Linked DNA regions of Homo sapiens: regions 2 and 3 are each linked to region 1. Evidence: promoter capture Hi-C in 16 types of primary human blood cells and fetal thymus (Javierre and others, 2016). All regions are on one chromosome and are shown on one strand. Each heading gives the region's core, a stretch centred on a gene start or on the middle of the fragment in contact. The rest is flanking DNA. Distances are from core to core; before and after follow the strand shown. Region 1 holds the start of HARS2 (histidyl-tRNA synthetase 2, mitochondrial). Region 2 overlaps ANKHD1-EIF4EBP3 (ANKHD1-EIF4EBP3 readthrough). Region 3 overlaps ANKHD1-EIF4EBP3 (ANKHD1-EIF4EBP3 readthrough).

What was found. Contacts are between HindIII fragments. The CHiCAGO score rates a contact against its expected background, and 5 or more counts as called.
Region 2: a fragment that was not itself captured here is called in contact with the fragment with the promoter of HARS2 in region 1 in 1 of 17 cell types (M1 macrophages); the score reaches 5.3 in M1 macrophages.
Region 3: a contact is called between a fragment that was not itself captured here and the fragment with the promoter of HARS2 in region 1, in 2 of 17 cell types (M2 macrophages and monocytes). The highest score is 7.3, in M2 macrophages.

The regions. Positions count from the first base shown.
Region 1 is chr5:140,689,898-140,692,926 of GRCh38, reverse strand. It overlaps HARS2 (histidyl-tRNA synthetase 2, mitochondrial), which reads right to left and starts at 1,472. Exons shown (of 13, transcript NM_012208.4): 1 at 1,171-1,472. The coding sequence starts at 1,278. HARS1 (histidyl-tRNA synthetase 1) reads left to right here and starts at 1,557. Exons shown (of 13, transcript NM_002109.6): 1 at 1,557-1,712; 2 at 1,983-2,072. The coding sequence starts at 1,623. RefSeq lists enhancers at 1,221-1,290, 1,371-1,460, 1,621-1,850 and promoters at 1,122-1,438, 1,503-1,529, 1,501-1,622, 1,172-1,622. The HindIII fragment of the contact is 4,332 bases long and covers 1-3,029 here.
Region 2 is chr5:140,509,798-140,512,846 of GRCh38, reverse strand. It overlaps ANKHD1-EIF4EBP3 (ANKHD1-EIF4EBP3 readthrough), which reads right to left. Exons shown (of 36, transcript NM_020690.6): 21 at 3,035-3,049; 22 at 2,666-2,828; 23 at 1-19. ANKHD1 (ankyrin repeat and KH domain containing 1) reads right to left here. Exons shown (of 34, transcript NM_017747.3): 21 at 3,035-3,049; 22 at 2,666-2,828; 23 at 1-19. Among named protein-coding and RNA genes, the nearest start is that of EIF4EBP3, 36 kb to the left of the region's middle. The HindIII fragment of the contact is 669 bases long and covers 922-1,590 here.
Region 3 is chr5:140,473,025-140,475,800 of GRCh38, reverse strand. All of the region lies in intron 10 of ANKHD1-EIF4EBP3 (ANKHD1-EIF4EBP3 readthrough), which reads right to left. The region is part of intron 10 of ANKHD1 (ankyrin repeat and KH domain containing 1); the gene reads right to left. Among named protein-coding and RNA genes, the nearest start is that of ANKHD1-EIF4EBP3, 73 kb to the right of the region's middle. The HindIII fragment of the contact is 5,450 bases long and covers 1-2,776 here.

The DNA of each region.
Region 1 (3,029 bases), core at 223-2,722:
TACTGAAAGAGCAAAAATAATTTTTTTTTTTTTTTCAGATAGAGTCTTACTCTGTCGCCCAGGCTGGAGTGCAGTGGCACGATCTCAGCTCCTGCAACCTCCGCCTCCCGGGTTCAAGCGATTCTCCTGTCTCTGCCTCCCGAGTAGCTGGGATTACAGGCACATGCCACCACGCCCGGCTAATTTTTGTATTTTTAGTAGATACGGGGTTTCGCCATACAGGTCAGGCTGGTCTCAAACTCCTGACCTCAGGTGATCCACCCCCCTTGGCCTCCCAAAGTGATGGGATTACAGGCATGAGCCACTGTGCCCGGACAAAAAAATAATAATTTTTAATAAGGTAGCACTGGTTATCAGGTTTAGAGAGAGGAAAACTGTAACTTGAAGACAAGGGAACCAGCTCAAGGACACAGAACAAGCCTGTGGAATGATAAGATATGGATTTCTTGAATGAGCTAAAAAACTCAGACTGATAAGATGCTGTGATTGAATATCAATAAAAGATCTGTGCCCTATTGTTCACGATAGCACAAAGCATCTGCTAAGAGAGCATTAGAATCTTTCCGAAGTAAGGCAAAACTTAATCAGTGACATTACCAGCACGCTGTATGCCCTTCCAAAAATAGAGGATGTGGTGGTTCCATACTATGGCGATTATCTGCCCTAAGAGAAGTCCAAGTTCAAGTACACAATCCCTTATCTGCAATTCCAAAATCCAAAACTCTCTGACATCTGAAAATGTTTTTCTGAGATTCATTTTGAGGTAAATTCTAAGATGAACTCAGTCTACTTCTGATCTTTAGTCATCTCATTTACTAGGAATATTCATATATTTCGCTTAAAAATGTTACTGTTTGAGTCCAAGAGTTTCAGGAAAAAGTGTGGATATGAATTAAAATACTCCCTTACTACATATCCGTGTATAAGTCATTCATTTAATCTTGCAGCCTCCGTTTCCTCAACTGCAGAATGGAAATCAAAACTCCAACCTCTCAAGATTGCTCCAAGGATTAAATGACCAGGCATCCAAATCGCTTAGTTCAGTGTCAGTACATAGTGGGCACTCGATAAAAACCGATTGTAACACTACTGGAATACAGGCCGCGAGGCTATGCGTTCAGATCTGGAGACCCTGCTGGGACAGACCAGAGATAATTCTGTCTCGCTCACCTGGCTTTGGCAACGGACCGCCCCGGTGCACGAAGCGCAGGGCGGTCGCAGGAGCTGGCTGAGCAGCGAAGCCCAGGCCCTCCTGGGAAGAAGTCCGAGCAGGGGCATCGCGCGGCAGGACGCCGGCTTTCCGGGACAGGAACAAAAGGCCTGGGAAGGAGGCGGGTCAGACACCAGGAAGGGTGGAGGGCACTGCAAAGGCGGAACCCGCGCACCAGGGAAAACTCGGGCGTTTGCGCACCTCACTAGTCACGAAGGCTGAGGTGGGATCCTCCCAAGTTCCCTTAGTAGCCAGCTTCGGCACTTCCGGGAGGAGCCGGAAATAATTTTTGTGCTCGGCGGAGGCTCTCTAGGCGTGCGACCCAGCGACTCGATAGCCGGAAGTCATCCTTGCTGAGGCTGGGGCAACCACCGCAGGTCGAGACAGCAGGCGGCTCAAGTGGACAGCCGGGATGGCAGAGCGTGCGGCGCTGGAGGAGCTGGTGAAACTTCAGGGAGAGCGCGTGCGAGGCCTCAAGCAGCAGAAGGCCAGCGCCGAGCTGGTGAGATTTAGGCAGCAGGGGAGAGGGCCAAGGCAAAGCCTGGGAGGACGTAAAGCCAGGGTGTTCGGGACATAGGGTAGAGATGTGAGGGAAGCGACCAGTCTTGTAGGGAGGAGAGTGGGCTGCGTGGGGAGACATCCGGGGTGGGTCCCGAGAGAAACAAAGCTAGGCCTGAGCAGAGAGATGTGATGAGGGAGGAATATTGAATGAATGGCGGGGGAGGGAGGAGAGTGACAGATGGATAGCTCAGCGCCTTCTTTCCCTCCACAGATCGAGGAGGAGGTGGCGAAACTCCTGAAACTGAAGGCACAGCTGGGTCCTGATGAAAGCAAACAGAAATTTGTGCTCAAAACCCCCAAGGTAATATCATTCCTGTAGGGAGCCACTGAGAAAGTCTCTAACTCTACTCACGGGGCGCTTATGTCTGCCTCCCTAAACCAGGTCATTGAGGAGGATCTGAAATGCTGCAGAGGAGAGGACAGTCGCTCTGGGCGCTGGGCTGGACTGGACTCTACCTGAGTCATTCTGGGATGGCAAAGTGATGGCAGAAACTAGGCCAGCTGGGTGATCAGGGGAGTCAGCCTGCTGCTGCTACTCCTTCGTTCATTCAATAAATGTGTATTTAGCGCTATGTCTCTAGCACTATACAAAGCACTGAATATATACCATGGTGGACAATATAGCCTACCCTCATGGAGCTTACATTCTACTGAAGGAGAGAGACTTAGAACAAATAATCCCACACAGATTTTTTTGTTTTTTTTTTAAACAGAGTATCCTCTGTTGCACAGGCTGGAGTGCAGTGGCACATCTTGGCTCACTGCAGCCGCTGCCTCCTGGGTTCAAGCGATTCTCCTGCTTCAGCCTCCTGAGTAGCTGGGACTACAGGTGCCCACCACCATGCCCAGCTAATTTTTGTATTTTTAGTAGAGACGGGGTTTCACCATATTGGCCAGGATGGTCTTGAACTTCTGACCTCAAGTGATCTGCCCGCCTCAGTCTCCCAAAGTGCTGGGATTACAGACGTGTGCCACCGCACCCGGCCACCACATGTGGTTATGTAATTACATATTGTGAAAAATGATATAAAGAAATTAAGGTTGCTCTGAGAAAAATAAGGGAGAACTGGGGAGTCTGAGAAAGGCTAACTGAGGAAGTGATATACTAACTGATCTAATGAATGAGTAGGAGATAGCCAGAGGACAAGTGTGACAAAGATAGGTCCAGGTAGAGTATGGAAACCCTAAAGTGGGAAAGAACTTTGGTAGTTTTGAGGAACTAGAGGATGATCTACATGGCTAGAACTAAGTTAAGGAG
Region 2 (3,049 bases), core at 7-2,506, 180 kb after region 1:
GAACAACTTTTACATGACCCTATAAGAAGTACAACAATCTTAGACAAGGTAGCATGAAAAGAAAAATTATTATTCTTAAGAATAAAAGAAAGTAAAACAACAGAATTACAAAGGAATCCCTTGATTTTGCATATATGCCTACCAATTTAAGAATAAAAAGGCAAATACTTCCAAATAGAATATTAAGCTTAAAATTAAAATTATAAAAATAAGATCAGCATTCAGCTTATAAAAAGAAAGGCATAAAAGACAAGAATGTGTGCTCAGGAATGGATGGTGGACTAGACAACATTTCTCCTGAATTTAATCCCACTGAAATTAGAAAAAGCTTTTGTAGAAAAACAGTATCTCCTAGAATAAATCTATTAAACAAACATTGGTGATGTAAAATGAACCTCAGTGTAAAAGGGAAATGAGTCCTAAAATAAGTAATTTTTTTTTAAATTTCAAAGTCTTACTTTGCCTCTACTTCACTAACTAAACAAGGTGGACTATCACAACTTTCTGAGCCTTAGGACTTGAATCTAAATAAAACACTTTCTAAATGCCATTATCAAGGGTTGAAAGATCTGTAATCAATTCTAAGCATATCTTTTTTTTTTTTTTTTTGAGATGGGAGTCTCGCTGTTGTTGCCCCGGCTGGAGTGCCACGGCACGCTCTTGTCTCACTGCAACCTCCGCCTCCCGGGTTCTAGCAACTCTCCTGCCTCAGCCTCCGGAGTAGCTGAGATTACAGGTGCCTACCATCACGCCTGGCTAATTTTTGTATTTTTAGTAGAGACGGGGATTTACCATGTTGGCCAGGCTGGTCTTGAACTCCTGACCTCAGGTGATCCACCTGACTCGGCCTCCCAAAGTGCTGGGATTATGGGCGTGAGCCACCGCACCCGGCCAGCATATCTATTTTAATGTAACCAAGCTTGCATAGTTTCCCTTCCTACCAAGGTTCTAAAACATCCTTAAGAATTAGTGTGATGGAGATACAAATCAGAGAAATGCTTGCCTCTGGGGCAGGGAAGTGACTAAAAGTGGGCAAGAGGGAACCTTCTAGGGTTACAGAAATAATTTATATGTTTATGGGGTATGGGTTACATGTATGTATACGTTTATCAAAACTAAACCATGTACCTTAAGATTCATGCATTTCACTATATGTAAATTGCACTGTGCTAAACAACTGGGTATATAAACAGTGCTGAAAAAGATGGTCATGACTCTTGTCCTCATGGACCTACCAGTCTAGTTGGCGAGACAGGCATTAAAATGGTAAGTACATGTTTGAAGATATAATTACAAATTGGGGTAAGGAAAATCAAAACTCAACTATAAAAGAGAAACAGAGGGACCTTTTTCAGATTTGGTGTTAGAGAAATACTCTTTGAGAACTGACATGTAAAATTGGAGCTAACAGATGAGTAGAGAGGTGAGCTAGGTGAACAGCAAAGGAAATCATTTCAGGAAAAGAAAATCAGTGAGCAAAGGCCCTGAGGCAGTTGAAAATTTAGTGCATTCTAGGCCAGTAACTAGAAAACAGTGAGCAAAAGGGGATAGTAGCATAAATGATTTGTATGGGGAGGTTGACATGAAGCTTATTATGCAGGTCTTTACATGCCCTACTAAGTAGTTTATAGTTTGGGAAGCTATACCAATGGGAAGGCTTTTAAAAATACAGCAGATAAGTGAACTTTAATATATATGAGAGGCCGGGCATGAACTTTAATATATATGAGAGGCATGGCTCACGCCCATATCTCAGCACTTTGGCAGGCAGAGGTGGGAGAATCGCTGAGCCCAGGAGTTTGAGACCAGCCTGGGCAACATAGCAAGACCTCGTCTCTACAAAAAGTAAAAATAAAAAAAATCTGAGCATGGTAGTGACACCTGTGGTCCCAGCTACTCAGGAGGCTGAGGCGGGAGGATCAATTGAGCCTGGGAGGTTGAGGCTATAGTGAGCTATGATCATGCCACTGCACTCCAGCCTGGTTGACAGACTGAGACCGTTTCATACTCACACACACACACACACACGCACACAGAAGATACAGTAAGTTTTTATGAAAGTCTACTCCTTTTTGTTCCTCTTTAGGCACAAAAAAATCCATCTGCATATAATAGTTTTTCTTAAATCTTCTGTTTCATGAACAATGTATCACAAATAGTCAAGACACCAAGTGATTTAACAACCAAGTTGCTTATAGTGAACTACCACATAGATCTTAGATTTGGCCACAAAAGAATGGAAAGATAAGGTCGGGAGCCTGTAATCCTAGCACTTTGGGAGGCTGAGGCAGGCAGATCACAAAGTCAGGAGTTTGAGACCAGCCTGACCAACGTGGTGACACCCCATCTCTACTAAAAATACAAAAATTAGCCGGGTGTGGTGACGCATGCCTGTAATCCCAGCTACTCAGGAGGCTGAGGCAGGAGAATCACTTGAACCTGGGAGGCAGAGGTTGCAGTGAGCCGCGATCATGCCACTGCATTCTAGCCTATGTGACAGAGTAAGACTCCGTCTCAAAAAAAAAAAAAAAAAAAAAGAATGGAAAGATAGCAGTGATTTTTCTATGGAAATATACTCAATTCTCCAAGATAAACTTATCTTTCTCACATGGTTTTAACTTAGAATTGGCTTAAAATTGACCTTTCTTCCCCCATATCAAATTACCTTGCGAAATGCTGACATAAGAGGTGTGATTTTCCGGTTATCTGCTGCATCCACATCAGCACCTGCTTGCACTAGCAACTGCACAACATCAAAATGACCTCCATTGGATGCCAGCCAAAGTGGCGTATTTCCCTTTTTGTTACGAACATCAATGTGGGCTCCCCTGTAAACAAGGCATATTAATAGTTTGTTTCCTGTAAGAAGAGGCTGGCTTTTTCTAGTTTTCTCTATCTTCTTCTTTTACAAAATAACTTGCAAATAATCTTTTCTTAACAATATCAATAAAGTAAAACAATGTTATTAACTTTAAAAGCTCTGAAAAGTGAAAATGACCATGAGAAGTTCTACATATAATAGAAAAGTACTCACCTATGAATCAGGAGT
Region 3 (2,776 bases), core at 170-2,669, 220 kb after region 1:
CATCCACAGATGTACTCCTCATCAGATGTTTTGGAAGTTCCCTCAGTCTGGCTCTTGGAGTCCATTTCAGAAGTAGATATTTTGCTGGACACCTAAGGTTCTTGTCTCATAGAGATATTTCACTTCTGTTCCCTAAATCAAGAAGGTTGTCCTCCAAGTTTTTAGTTACACAGTTGTCTCTGTTTCTTCCATTAACGACAATTTGCTAATTTTTCCCCCCTTTTTTTTAGTTTTTTTGGGTTTGTTTTGTTTTGTTTTTTACATACAACCTGGATATGACAATTTGCTAATTTCTAACCATAACCCTAGATAGTTGATCAAATATTTTTTTATCCATTTTGGTTCACAGGTAGGGCAATAAGATGCCGGTTCCTTGCTTTATTCAAGTAGACTAGATCTACTGATGTACTACATGTGAAATGCATTCATTCCCTATTCCTCTGCACATGCTGAAATCTCAGCCCCCATTGTGTATTTTTTTAGCCCTTAATTCTCCTTGGGACTACAGCTTAAACTGTGGATCCATGCTGCACTTCTAGTCCACGGAGATCTTTAATCCTGTTGTTTTGGGGCACGACTACATATTTTTAGATTCATTTTTCTATATACTAATAATGACTTTACCTTCTTGACTGAAGTCATTTGTACTTATATTTAAACAACCTGGAGAGAGCTGAAAAGAACTCATTCAATACACAATAACATAGAAAGAGAGAACTTGGCTTTAAAAGAAATGTATTAGGAGTTTTGTGTATTCCATAGGTAGTTTTAGATTTTTAAGAAATTGACAGAAGTTTCCTAGTTTTAAGTAGTAAAGTTAAAAATATGTATATACGCTATTCCTTAATAAAAAAGTTAAAAAGTGGAAGGTAAGGTCACATTTAAAGTTTATTAAGGTAAGGTAATTACTAACAGTTGAAATACATTGATAAGTAGATTACTAGAGCTCATAAGCTCCCTAAAAATATATCTATAAAAAATACACTACAAGTCTGGGCAAGATAGCAAGACTTTGTCTCTGAAAAAAAATTTAAAAATTAGCCAGGCATTGTGGTGCATACCTGTAGTCCTAGCTACTCAGGAGGCTGAGGAAAGGGGATGCCATGAGCCCAGGAGTTCAAAGCTGCAGTGAGCTATAATCACGCTTTTGTACTCTAGCCTGAGCGACAAAGTGAGACCATCTCCAAAAAAAAAAAAAAAAAGAAGAAAAAAAAAAGGTTCTGATGAATGAGCACTGTAAGAAAAAATGTGGAATTTTTTCTATTTGGCTTTAGATAACAAAATTTTATTTTAAATTAAGTTTATTTTATTTAAAATAAGTTAATTTCCCTTAAAAAATCACAGCCACAGGGCACCCAAGACATATATTTAAGGACTGTAACTATACCACAGAGGCAATGTCTTTTGGAGTTGGAGGGAGGACATTCTCTAAGGAGAAAGACCAAAATCACAGAGAAAAGGAGGGAGACTGTTTGATACTGTACGTACTAGAGGATTCCAATACTCTTCCATGGGGAGTATGTTCCTTCAACCCACCACTGTATATTAATCATTACCTTAGTGATCTACTATTACTGATTGGATTCATACCCCTCAGGAGAACTGATATGGATAAAAGGTTAAGAGGCACTGGTCCTAAGGCTTGTGTTTAGCACATTTTCTAAAAATCACAAGTAACAGAGAGAAAAACCAAGTTTATTCAATTTGGATGGAGGAAAAATGATCGATTATAAAGCAAAGATGGAAAAAGAAAAGAACTCAGCAATGATGCAGAATAATCTGTATGGCCTCTACCAATGTCTCAAAGTGTAAAATATGGAGAACTTGTCATCAGAATCTCCTGAGATATTAGTTCAAATGCAGACCCCCTATTTCAGATCTATGGAATCTGAACCTGTAAACGTGGGGCTGCAAAACTCATTTTTAAAAAAATCCTGTTTTGAGACTTGCAGCTAGAGAGAAAGATTTACAATTACATTTCATCTAACAAATCCAGGGAAAAACAATTACTTTGATCTGAAATAACACTCAGCTTTACATTCTTGATAGGAGCCTATAATATTATACAAACTGAGTAGAAGCTCACATGTTCACATCACATTTTGTAAAATAAACTTACTTACTTCAAAGTAGAATAAATATATCCAGCCTGGACAGTACAGTGAGACCTCATCTCTATAAAAATGAAAAAAATTAGTTGGGCATGGTGGCACATGCCTCTAGTCCCAGCTACTGGGGAGGCTGAGGCAGGAAGATCACTTGAGCCTGGGATGGGAAGGCTGCAGTGAGCCAAGAGCACACCACTGCATTCCAGCCTGAGCAACAGAGTGAGACCCTGTCTCAAAAAAAAAAAATTTAAAAAATTTTTAAAAATCTCAACAGAATAAATAAAACAGCTTCTCATTTAACAAGCCAATGATGAAGACACTTAATAAGCATCATGATTAAGAGGGGTTTAGAATTAAGAAACTTAGGCCAGGCACGGTGACTCACGCCTGTAATCCCAGCACTTTAGGAGGCCGAGGCGGGTAGATCACAAGGTCAGGAGTTCGAGACCAGCCCAGCCAACATGGTGAAACCCCGTCTCTACTAAAGATGCAAAAAATTAGGTAGGCACGGTGGCACGCGCCTGTAATCCCAGTTACTTGGGAGGCTGGGGCAGGATAATCGCTTGAACCCAGGAGGCAGAGGCTGCAGGGAGCCAAGATTGCAGCACCACTGCACTCCAGCCTGGGCAACAGGGCGAGACTCTGTCTCAAAAAAAAAAAAAAAAAGA